3 separate regions of the Homo sapiens genome follow, and all the other regions are linked to region 1. Evidence: promoter capture Hi-C in 16 types of primary human blood cells and fetal thymus (Javierre and others, 2016). All regions are on one chromosome and are shown on one strand. Each heading gives the region's core, a stretch centred on a gene start or on the middle of the fragment in contact. The rest is flanking DNA. Distances are from core to core; before and after follow the strand shown.

What was found. Contacts are between HindIII fragments. The CHiCAGO score rates a contact against its expected background, and 5 or more counts as called.
Region 2: a contact is called between a fragment that was not itself captured here and the fragment with the promoter of ADRA2A in region 1, in 3 of 17 cell types (M2 macrophages, M0 macrophages and M1 macrophages). The highest score is 7.8, in M2 macrophages.
Region 3: a contact is called between a fragment that was not itself captured here and the fragment with the promoter of ADRA2A in region 1, in 4 of 17 cell types (M2 macrophages, endothelial precursors, megakaryocytes and 1 more). The highest score is 6.7, in M2 macrophages.

The regions. Positions count from the first base shown.
Region 1 is chr10:111,075,204-111,078,764 of GRCh38, reverse strand. It overlaps ADRA2A (adrenoceptor alpha 2A), which reads right to left and starts at 1,736. Exons shown (of 1, transcript NM_000681.4): 1 at 1-1,736. The coding sequence starts at 768. RefSeq lists a silencer at 1,724-1,773. The HindIII fragment of the contact is 6,739 bases long and covers 1-3,561 here.
Region 2 is chr10:112,316,728-112,320,288 of GRCh38, reverse strand. It overlaps the pseudogene GUCY2GP. Among named protein-coding and RNA genes, the nearest start is that of MIR6715B, 19 kb to the right of the region's middle. The HindIII fragment of the contact is 4,938 bases long and covers 1-3,561 here.
Region 3 is chr10:112,135,921-112,139,481 of GRCh38, reverse strand. No RefSeq gene overlaps it. Among named protein-coding and RNA genes, the nearest start is that of GPAM, 46 kb to the left of the region's middle. The HindIII fragment of the contact is 1,434 bases long and covers 1,145-2,578 here.

The sequences.
Region 1 (3,561 bases), core at 487-2,986:
CGCGGCGACGGCGTCCGGACCCCGGCGGCTGGGTGGCACGCGGGTGCGACGCTTGGCGATCTGGTAGATGCGCACGTAGACCAGGATCATGATGAGGCAGGGAGCGAAGAAGGAGCCGATGCACGACGAGATGACGTACCACTTCTGGTCGTTGATCTCGCAGCGCGGCTCGGCCGGCTGCGGGCCGCCGCCGCCGCCCTTCTTCTCGATGGAGATGAGCGGCGGGAAGGAGATGACGGCCGAGATGACCCACACGGTGATGATGATGGCCTTGATGCGGCGCGGCGTGCGCTTCAGGTTGTACTCGATGGCCTGTGTGATGGACCAGTAGCGGTCCAGGCTGATGGCGCACAGGTGCACGATGGACGACGTGCAGAAGAGCACGTCGAGCGCCAGGTAGATCTCGCACCAAGCCTTGCCGAAGTACCAGTAGCCCATGACCTCGTTGGCCAGCGAGAAAGGGATGACGAGCGTGGCCACCAGGATGTCGGCCGAGGCCAGAGACACCAGGAAGAGGTTTTGGGGCGCCTTGAGCGCGCGGCTCGTGAACACGGCGATGATGACGAGCACGTTGCCGAACACGGTGAGCAGCATGAGCAGGCCGGCCAGGCACACCAGCGTCAGCGTCACCTGCAGGGAGTAAGGGGTGGCCCGGGCGCCGCCCCCCGGCGCCTCGGTCCCGTTCCAGCTCGCGTTGCCCGCGTCCGGCTGCAGGGAGCCCATGGGCGCAAAGCTGCCCTCGGCCAACGGCTGCTCCTGGCGGAACATGAACGCGGGCGCCCGCTGGCCTGGGCCTGCTGCCAGCTGCCTTCCGGCCCGGCGCCCGTGGGTCCTCCTCTTCCTCCGGCGCCCCGCTCGCCTGGCTGCGGCTCACATAGGGAGGGGGCCGCAGGGAGGCCGGGCCCGAACTGGAGGACCGCTAGCGGCCCATGGCCCGGGTCCCGCGAACTGCGCCTGGCTCGCGCTTCAGACGCTCTCGGTGGGCGCCTTCTTGCTCCGAGCTCCTAATACAGCCAAGTTTTATTTCTAAGCGGCGGGAGAGAGTAGGGAGAGCCGATGGGTAAAGAGAGATTTATTCTTCAAGAAGGGAGAACAAAAATCATCGGTGGCCTGATAACTTGGAAGGATGACAGGAAATTAAATATATATATACATATCAATATCTGTATCTTGAATCTTGAGCCTGAGCGAAAGCAAGAGGTCTTACCGTGTGCGGGGCCCGCCCCCACCCCGGGAGGCAGCCGAAGGGTGCTGATGCGAGCTCGGGGGTCCTATGTCTGTCGCCTTACATCCCCGAAGCGATTACCGACTCTCTGGCTTCCCCCAGACGCTGCGGTTCTGGCCCGGCCCGGCCCGGGGCTGGGGCGCGGACTCTGCCGCCTCTCGGAGCGCCGCGAGACTTCCAAAGTTGTGCGCCCTGCTGGGGCTGGGGCACACTGTGCGGAGCTCCGGGACGGCGGCGGCGGCGGGGTGAGGAGTGTGGGGGCCGCATGAAGGCACCCCCGTCCTCAGGCGGGCCGGGGCAGGTGAACGATCAGCTCTCCAGGAGCCGCGACGGAGGCAGGGGTTCTCCTGGGCGTCCGCCTGGTGGGCGCCGAGCGCTGCTGGATGGGCCGGGGTCCGACGACAGCGCGAGTTGGGGCAGGAGCGCAAGGCGGGGAAGAAGGCGCTGGAGTGGCCGGGCGGCGGCACGCCGGCTGCTGGGCTTCTGCACCGAGCTGGAGCTGCTGCTGCTCCGCTGCGCTCACGGTGGACTCGTTTTATAGCCCCAGGATCAAGCAAGCGTTGCTGAGCAGCCGGCGTCAGCCCCCACGTGGGAAGCCGACCCTCCCCCGCCCCTCGCACCACCCCTCCGCCAGTCTAGCGCCCGCGCCTAGCGCTGGACCTCGGGGAGCGTTGCCCTCAGGCGGGACGAGCCCTTTGGAGAGGCGGGTACCTTGAGCTAGAGACTTAAAGAGGGAGCCCGGGGGTGGGGGGTAGGGGAGGAGCGGCCCCTGCTGGGAGTTGGCCATGCAGCTCCGGGCCGACGGAGCAGAACGCAACGGGCACCCGTGAGTGCCCCCAAGAAGCTGGATCTTGGGAGAAAAGGGAAGAAAAAAATGGAAGGGAATCCCCGCCCAAATCGAGGGAAGTAACCTCCGGTGTGAGTTACGTCTGGAGCAGCCCAGCTCCGGGCCAGAGCCGACGCGGTCCGCAGGTGCTCCTGGAGGCTGGGGAGAAAGGGGTCCTGGAGAGGGAGGAAGGCGCGGCTTCGGATGGAACCCCTGGGGCGGAATGGACAGCACCCACGGGGAAGTGGTACAAGCCGGAGTTCAGACCTCCGCTTAGGGAAGAAGCGGCTACGTGTCCTCCCAGCCGCGATGCTGTCTGCGGGAAACGCAAGACCCGGGGTCTGGACCGCGCCCCCTTAGACCGAGGTGGGGAGGGGTCCAGGAGCCGAGCGCCAGGGCAAAGCGAGGACGCACTGACACCTGCTGGCCGCTCGTGGTCACGGCTGAGAAGCGACCCGCTGACGCCAGGCGCCTCCTCCCGTCTCTTAGGTCTTCTGCCAACAGAGCCTTCTCCTATCTCCGAACAAATTGGTTTCTAAGCTCAGGAAAGGAGAACCCAGAGTTTGAATTGCACCCTGCCGTGTTGCAGAAATCTTCCTAAAGCAGATACTCGTGTGTCTACCCCTGGCGGGAGTGGGGGTTTGTCTAATAAAGTCACATCAGGAAGGGCTCAGCAGGCACCGCCGGCCAGAACGGGCATCCCACTCTGGACCCGCACAGCCCACCCTTCCTGCAGATCCGAGAGAGGCCAGGATCCTGCCTCCTTGGTTGCACAGCTCTGGCTTGCTGGGAATCATTATGTTTTTGTTGAGGACCGAAAGCTAGACTCCACTCCCGCCCCGCATCCCACCCCCATTCAGATGTACACACAGCATCCTTCAATAAGGGGAAGAGGGAGTAGAATATTTTCCATGTTCTCTCTGATAAGAATAGCGGTGGGGGCGGGGGGGAGTGGGTGTGCGGCGAATGGCAAGTTTTTCCGTGCGTGCTAGCTGTCCTAGGATAGATTTTAACGGTCACTAGAGCACTAGCTTGCACCCTGCTAGCTGCACTTTTCAGATGAGAGCAAGCAGTTTAATGGTAAAACCCAAGAGGGTAGGAAATTTCAGCAGGAGAGAGATTAGACTTAAAGGAATGTCGTCTTATTTAAGGAACCACTAAACCAAAATGCCTTGTGCAGTCACCTAAGTTGGAATTCCAAGGATGGAACAGGCTGCCTCTCTGTGCAGCCAGCTGCAGGCTTAGGTCTGGCTGGGGGCTGATGGCTAAATTAAGGGCCCTGAGAATCACCTTCATTCCCAGCTGATGTCTATAGCCCGCACCAGTGATACAGTTATTGGTGCTGCTGCTGTTCATGTAGTCTCAAAATCTGTACTTTCCAAAGTATTTCACAGAAGTCTCATTTGACTTCAGTACCTTTGTCTCCCAATCTTTGCCCTAATGGTATAAACTCCCTTTCCAGTGTTAGTTCTGAGGAGCCTTTCTAATCTCCCTTTCTGGACAATCTAAA
Region 2 (3,561 bases), core at 502-3,001, 1.2 Mb before region 1:
ATTTCTTCAAGTACTTAGGTCAGTATGGACTCATGGATATTTATTTCATACTTTGAGTTATAACTGAATCACTACTATTTATTTTGTGGCTTAAATTGTTCCAGTTTTGGCCATTCCGTTTCAGGTGGCTTCTGTGTCTCTTTGACATGTAGCCATCGCTGTGGTGTTTTGTCTTGTTTCTGTGTATTTCCTTACTTTCTGGTAAGACAAGAAAGTCTCATTTTGCATATCCCTGCGCCAGTGCTAGAAGCAACCAGTTCTCTCCAACAAGCCCTGGCTGCTTTTGTTGGAGAAAGGTATTAGAAAGTTAGAGCTGACACTAGATACGCTCATTGCTACCGGAGTGTTGTTGCTTATGGGCCTTCTCAGTGGACAGAGTAGGGAAATGCGTGTGCATACTAACCCGTATGTATACATATCTCTATAACTACACATGCACCCATACACATATATCTGCATCTACATTAAACTAAACATGAGTTCCCATTGACGTCTCCAAATCTAACTCATCGCCATCACGGTTCATTGCAGTCTTCCCCATTACTTTTCTGTAAATTCCAACATTGAGATACTGGCTCCCACCATCCACCATCCATGTACTTTGTTCGATCCCTATGTGTGTGTTCGGTGATTTTAGACTTGTTAATCTGCATCCCCATGAGAAACAGTTTTACCAACTAGAGTACGATGATTATGAATAGTTCCTTTTGCCTTTAGTCTTAGAAAGTTTCTAGTGATTTCACAAGCGATGTAGGTCAGCATTCTTTCTCACTCATCCCATTCAGTAAGGTTATGCCATATATTTGTAACACTGTTAGATTCTTTTATCGCTGTTTGCATTCTATCTTGGGGTTGCCTAATTTCCCAATTGGTATTTTTTAAAGTTTGCTTTCCTTATGGCTTACTTTTGTGCTATTAAGCTCTATGGGTTTTGGTAAATACATAGTGTCATCTATCCACCACTATAGTATCCTACAGAAAAGTTTCCTCATCCTAAAATTATCCCCTGCACTTCACCTAGTCAACGCTCTCTGCTCCTCAAACTCTTGGAAAACACTGATCTGTTTTCTGTCTCTAAAATTTTGTCTTTTCTAGAATGTATATTTCCTTAATTTCTGGGAAGACAAGAAAGTCTCATTTTGCATATCTCCTGCCCCAGTGCTAGATGCAGTCAATTCTCCAAGAAGCCATGACTTCTTTTGTTGGAGAAAGGTATTAGAAAGTAAGCAGATAACGAGGTCAAGAGATCGAGACCATCCTGGCCAACATGGTGAAACCCCATCTCCACTAAAAGTACAAAAATTAGCTGGGCGTGGTGGCGCATGCCTGTAGTTCCAGCTACTGGGGAACCTAAGGCAGAAGAGTCGCTTGAACCCAGGAGGCGGAGGTTGCAGTAAGCGGAGATCACACCACTGCACTCCAGCCTGGGCAACAGGGCCAGAGTCTATCTCAAAAAAAAAAAAAAAAAAAAGAAAAAAAAAAGAAAAGAAAAAAGAAAGAAAGAAAGAAATGATGCTAGATATGCCCACTGCTGCTTGCGTGTTGTTGCTTCTGGGGTGCCATGTAAATAGAATCATACAGTACACAGCCTTTTCTGACTGGTTTCTCTAACTTAGTAATAATGCATGTAAGACTTATCCATGTTGTTGCACACACAGTATTTTTATTTTTATGCCAAAACATGTATACATTGTTCTCAAAATATTATTTTCTTGACAACATCTGGTTAAGCAGAATGTTTAATAAATGTCAGTAGGAGCCAGTGAAGAAGTGGGAAAAATTAGGTTTAGAAAATCGGACAGAGAGGCAGGACATGATGGTAACATTTATTACGTGTTAAAATAGCATTTCTGCGACATATTACAGAAAATTTAACAAAATTGCATGAAGCGCGCTTTGGGGGTTTCCAACACGAAATGCCTATACATTCCTGAAATCATATAGAGATATGCTTCTCCTCAAGCAAAGTTCTATTTTAAAAAATCTTGATTTGAAAACAAATTAATTAGGAGGATGTTTGTTTATATGTTTTTCATTAGAATTGTTCATTTTCCAGGCAGATTCTCAGAGTATTCCTATTAAAATATCCAGATTACTTTGGAATTCTAATCTGTTCTATTTATTTAAAAACTCAGTTTACAAATATAAGAGCACAATTACTATTGAAAATGAAGTGTAGTAAGTGGCACAAAGTTCTGATGTTTGGCTGTCTAAACCCAACATGAATTTCAGAAATCATCAACCAAATCAAAGACCCTGCAGCAGCAGTCCCACTGCAACCTTCCCTGCCCGAGGAGAAGGGCAATGAAAAGATCGTGGCCATGGTGAGGGTGTGTTGGGATGAATCTCTGGAGAAAAGACCCAGTTTCTCTTCCATCAAGAAAACTTTACGAGAGGCCAGTCCCAGAGGGTGAGTTAGATGTGCAACAGATATTTGCTCTCACTCAGTTAACCATTAGGATTTTAGAGCTGCTGGGCATGGTGGCTCATGCATGTAATCCCAGTGATTTAGGAGGCTAAGGCAGGAGGATCCCTTGAGGCCGGGAGTTCAAGACCAGCCTGGGCAACATGGTGAGTTTCTGTATCTATAAAAAATAAAATAAAATAAAAAATTAGCCAGGCGTGGTGGTGTGAGCCTGTAGTTTGAGTTTCTTAGGGGGGCTGAGAATTGCTTGAGCCCTGGAGGTCAAGGCTGCAGTGAGCTATGATTGTGCCACTGCACTCCAGCCTGGGTGACAGAACGAGACCCTGTTTCTAAAAAACAAAACAAAACAAAATTAAATCTATATGGCCGTGATTGGTTCTATGTGACTCATTCCCTTCCTCCCTCCTCCCTTCCTCCATTCCTCCCTTCCTCCCTTCCTTCCTTCCTTTCTTCCTTCCTCATACACTCACTCAGTGCTTACCATACACAAAACACTGTACTACATGCTGGTTACAGTGGAGTGAGAAATTTTTCCTTTATTTCATAAATGCCACAAAAATGGATCAGATATTAATAATTCTACTGCCTTCTTTGTCTATCTCAGGTGTCACTAATCAATTAAGGCCCTTGTTTCCAGGGAGTTTTGACATGGCTTCAGAGTCTTTTTCAAATCAGCATTCCAAGGGTTAGGCTAATCAATTTGGACTGGACTGTGGGATAAAAATTACTCACCACCCATAGAGTAGGTTATGACTTAAATTACGCATTCCTCTCCAACAACTTTCTCAATAGTAGCTTCCTTTACACCAGATAATTGTATCATCTTTTAGTACATGAATTTAGGAAGACATGCCCATGTTAGAGGTAGCTTGAGTTGGTAGAAAGAGCCCCAGGCTAGGAATCAGGTGTCTACTCTTAATTTGGACCTTCAGCTATGCATTATTTAAAAAAACAAAACAAAACATTTTTTGGAGTCAGGGTCTGGCTCTGTTGCACAGGCTGGAGTGCAGTGGCATGATCTTGGCTCACTGCAATTTCTGCCTCCCGGCTTCAAGTGATTCTCATGCTTCAGCCTCCTGAGCAGCTAGGACTGCAGGTGTGTGCCACCATGCCTGGCTAATTTTTGTATTTTTAGT
Region 3 (3,561 bases), core at 612-3,111, 1.1 Mb before region 1:
TAAAGGTAAACAGTGTAAGGAAAACAATCACAGCCTACCACGAGGGCAGTGTGGGGAACCCATGGGTGCTGTGGTCGTGTGTTGTGGGGTGCCAGCTGGCGAGGCTTCTCTGAGCAAGGTGATGTTTCAGCTAAGCCTCAAGACTGAGAAAGAGCCAGGTTGGCAAGGGGCTAGTGGGGTGGGAGTGGGCTGCCCTGGCAGAGGGGATGGCGTGAGGAGGACCCTAAGGCGGGAAGAGACTGGGCTGGTGGAGAAGCTGAGAGAAGGCTTGTATTAGTCCGTTTTCATGCCTCTGATAAAGACATACCTGAGACTGGGTAACTTCTAAAGAAAAAGAGGTTTAATGGACTCACAGTTCCACGTGGCTGGGAAGGCCTCACAATTAAGGCAAAAGGCACATCTTACATGGCGGCAGACAAGAGAGAATGAGAGCCAAGCGAGAGAGGAAACTCCTTATAAAACCTTCAGATCTTGTGAGACTTATTCACTACCACGAGAACAGTATGGGGGAAACTGACCCCATGATTCAGTTATTTTCCACCAGGTCCCTCCCACAACAGATGGTAATTATGGGAGCTACAATTCAAGATAAGATTTGGGTGGGGACACAGCCAAACCATATCAAGGCTGAAGGCAGCATCTGAGCTGAGAGGGATGCCAGAGGGCCAGGTAGGGAAGCTGTTGAAGGGGGGTAATGAAGACTCAAGCTTTTTAAAGAGCATTTTTTTCCCTCCGCTGATCTGTATACAGTGTCCTGAGTGGAAGGGGAGGAAAAGAAACCATAGTCCAGAAAGAGATGCTGGTAGCTTGGGTGGGGACGCAGAGAAATGGGTGGATTTGGGCATTCTGGAGACCGGTGAGCAGGCTCTCTCCACCATACAGGGATAGGGCACACTGTCAAGGTAAACTCCAGTGGCTTAGGGTGGGGTGGAGGACAGCTGCCTCCAGAGCACAGAGAGGGAGGGGTCCTGAGGCCATGTGCAGTCTGGGAGGTAAAGTGTGATGTGTTTGACAGCCCTAGTGCAGCACAGCACAGGAGGGGTAGTGTGAGATTGGCAGTTGGATCTGACATTCGATGAATGGCCTCCCAACTCCTCGAGGGCAGGAACCGTGCTTGATTCACTGTTGTGTCTCTTAAAAAGCTTTTCCTGGGCTATGGGGAAGTGGCCTCTCTGACAAGCATAGGGATTTGATATTGTTGGAGAAATGGGTGCCAATGGGTCTGGATGGGCTTCTCTTGCCACATGCCACCTGCTGTCTTGGGAGCACCTAGGGATGCCTCCAGTGGCTGCAGAGTGAGGGTGAGGGCGGGTCATTGCTTTTCTCCCCCGCCCTCCATTGCTGTGCCTAGGGGACTCCAAGCCCGCTTGGTCCTCTCAGATGTTGCCTAGGCAGTGAGCTCAGGATCTCCCTCACTCCCCTTTAGGGTCCACTGGTTACACCTTGGCCTTTGAAAAGTGGAATGCTCCTGATTTCAAGTCATATGGTATAGAAGCCTACTTCCTCTCAGAAGGGGAAAGCGGTGCCTCGCGTGCCGCCTAGAAATACCTCTTTAATGTCTAAATCACCATGTTGGAACTTCACTCCTAACAGAGACTGTGCCAGCTGCACCTAAAAAACCCACCATATTATCCCTTATTATTCATTTACAGTGTAAATTTTACACATTGATAGACATAAGATTGGCAAAGCAAACTGGGGAAGAGTGGGAGGGAGAATGCGTGGCTTTGTGTCTGAGATCTGTGGGAAGAAGGGGGAAATGCTGAGAAGGGACAAGGGGAGGGATGCTGGGGCTGGAAGCAAGTGTCCTGCACTGCACAGTCTTGCCCTGAGCTTGTGCCTGCCTGGGAACTTGAATCCTCCTTCCTCAGTAAAGGAGCCGGGGGCACCTGCCATTTTTTCCACTAGAGGGCGCCAGCACCCTGCAATGCAGCCTGGAGGTTTGGGACCTGGCTGGGAAGACAGCTGAGAATGGAAGAGGTTTGGGGCGTCTCAGGGCCTCAGAAGCACCGTGTACCTGGAATCCCTTGCCTTGCATCCCCTGAGCTCCCTGCTCCCCTCTGCTGCTCCAATGGGGCTGCATTTCCTTGGGTATCTCCCAATCCATCTCTGGCCCCATGTTCGCCAGCATGAGCCCTTGGTTGTGGGAGCTCCAGCTAGACGTGGGGACTTCAGGAAGCTGTGATGAGCACCAGAGGGACTCCTGAGCTGCTATGTGCAGCTAGGTCTGCCTGCCCTGGAGCCTCCGGTTCCTATGGCCTCCTCCCTGGAGGGAGAGTTTGCTAGGAGAAGAGAGCTTGTCTTTGCGTATTTTGTTTATTCTCTATTTCCTTAGGGCCTCACTGGACCCTGCACTGAGTAGGTACTCCTCAAATCCACTGCACCTGTGTGCATGCTGGGCATTGGCCCTGGCAGCTGCTATGCAGTGTGGGAGTAGAGCCCCGGGAACAGTGAGTGGGTGAGAAGGCTCAGCTGGTGTGCAAAATGGGATCAGAGCAGAGCTGGGAGGCTGGGGATGCTGGGTGTGGAGGGAGGAGAGGAAGAGGAAGGAGAGGGCAATGAGCTGGTCTTGGAAGCTTGGGGAAGCATTCAGACAGGCACAGAGGAGCCACATTAAACAAGGGTTTGGCCCAGTAGCCACCTGGGCTGCCAGTGTTCTAGAACTAGGAAACCAACCCAGGAAGCTGGCTCTGCTCCTGGCCCCCAAAGCCCTTTCCTCTAGGCTGTTCTAGGCCAAGGAACGGAGGGGAAATGTTTTCCTTATTCCATTCTGGCCTTTAGCTGTGGTATCGCCTGCCAAGCTCTCTGGAGGATCCAGGGGGACCGGCCATCAGATCCCCCCAAACAGCTGTGCTCTTCTGTCCAGACACTGTTCAGCCACAGCCTTGGGCTGGGCCTTTCCTCTGTGTCCTGGGCCGAGGACCCAGAGCTGCTGGGGGCCTGTGTGCCCCACAGGATCCATGAAGGTCTCCACAGCTGCAGGTGCAGGTGTCATAATCTGCATAAGTTGCAGTTCATGTGATTGTCACCGCCAGAATCTCTGAATATTGCTCACCTGGGTATGGAGCTGCCCGAAGTTCTTGTGTGGGTTTTCAGCCATACTTACATGGGTTATAGGCATGCTGGACCATTGGTAAAATCACATTGGCAGGCTGTGTTTTCTTCTCCCAGCTGTTAAAGCTGCAATTCTGGCAGTCAGAAGACGTCGCTTACTTGGTGGTTTCTAGCAGCCAATTCCCCTGTCTGAAAAGGATCCCTCATGGGGTTTGTTGTGTTATGGGCTTGTCTGAAATGTTAACCTATTTGTTCTTAAATGTCATCGGTGAGTGATTTTTATCACAATGAGAGTCTCATTGATGAAAGTCGTTGAGAGCCCGAGGACTTTGTGCAGAGTCTCTGTGGACCACGAGGGAATCTAGCAGAGAGGGGAGGTGGGTGGGTTGGATGTGGTGGTGCCTTTCAAGCTGAGGCCATGGGAGCTGCTTCGGGCTGGCCATTTGGGCAGTTCCCTTCAGTACAGGCCTCACCCCCAAGCAATGTTGTGTTACAAAGGCAGGTTCA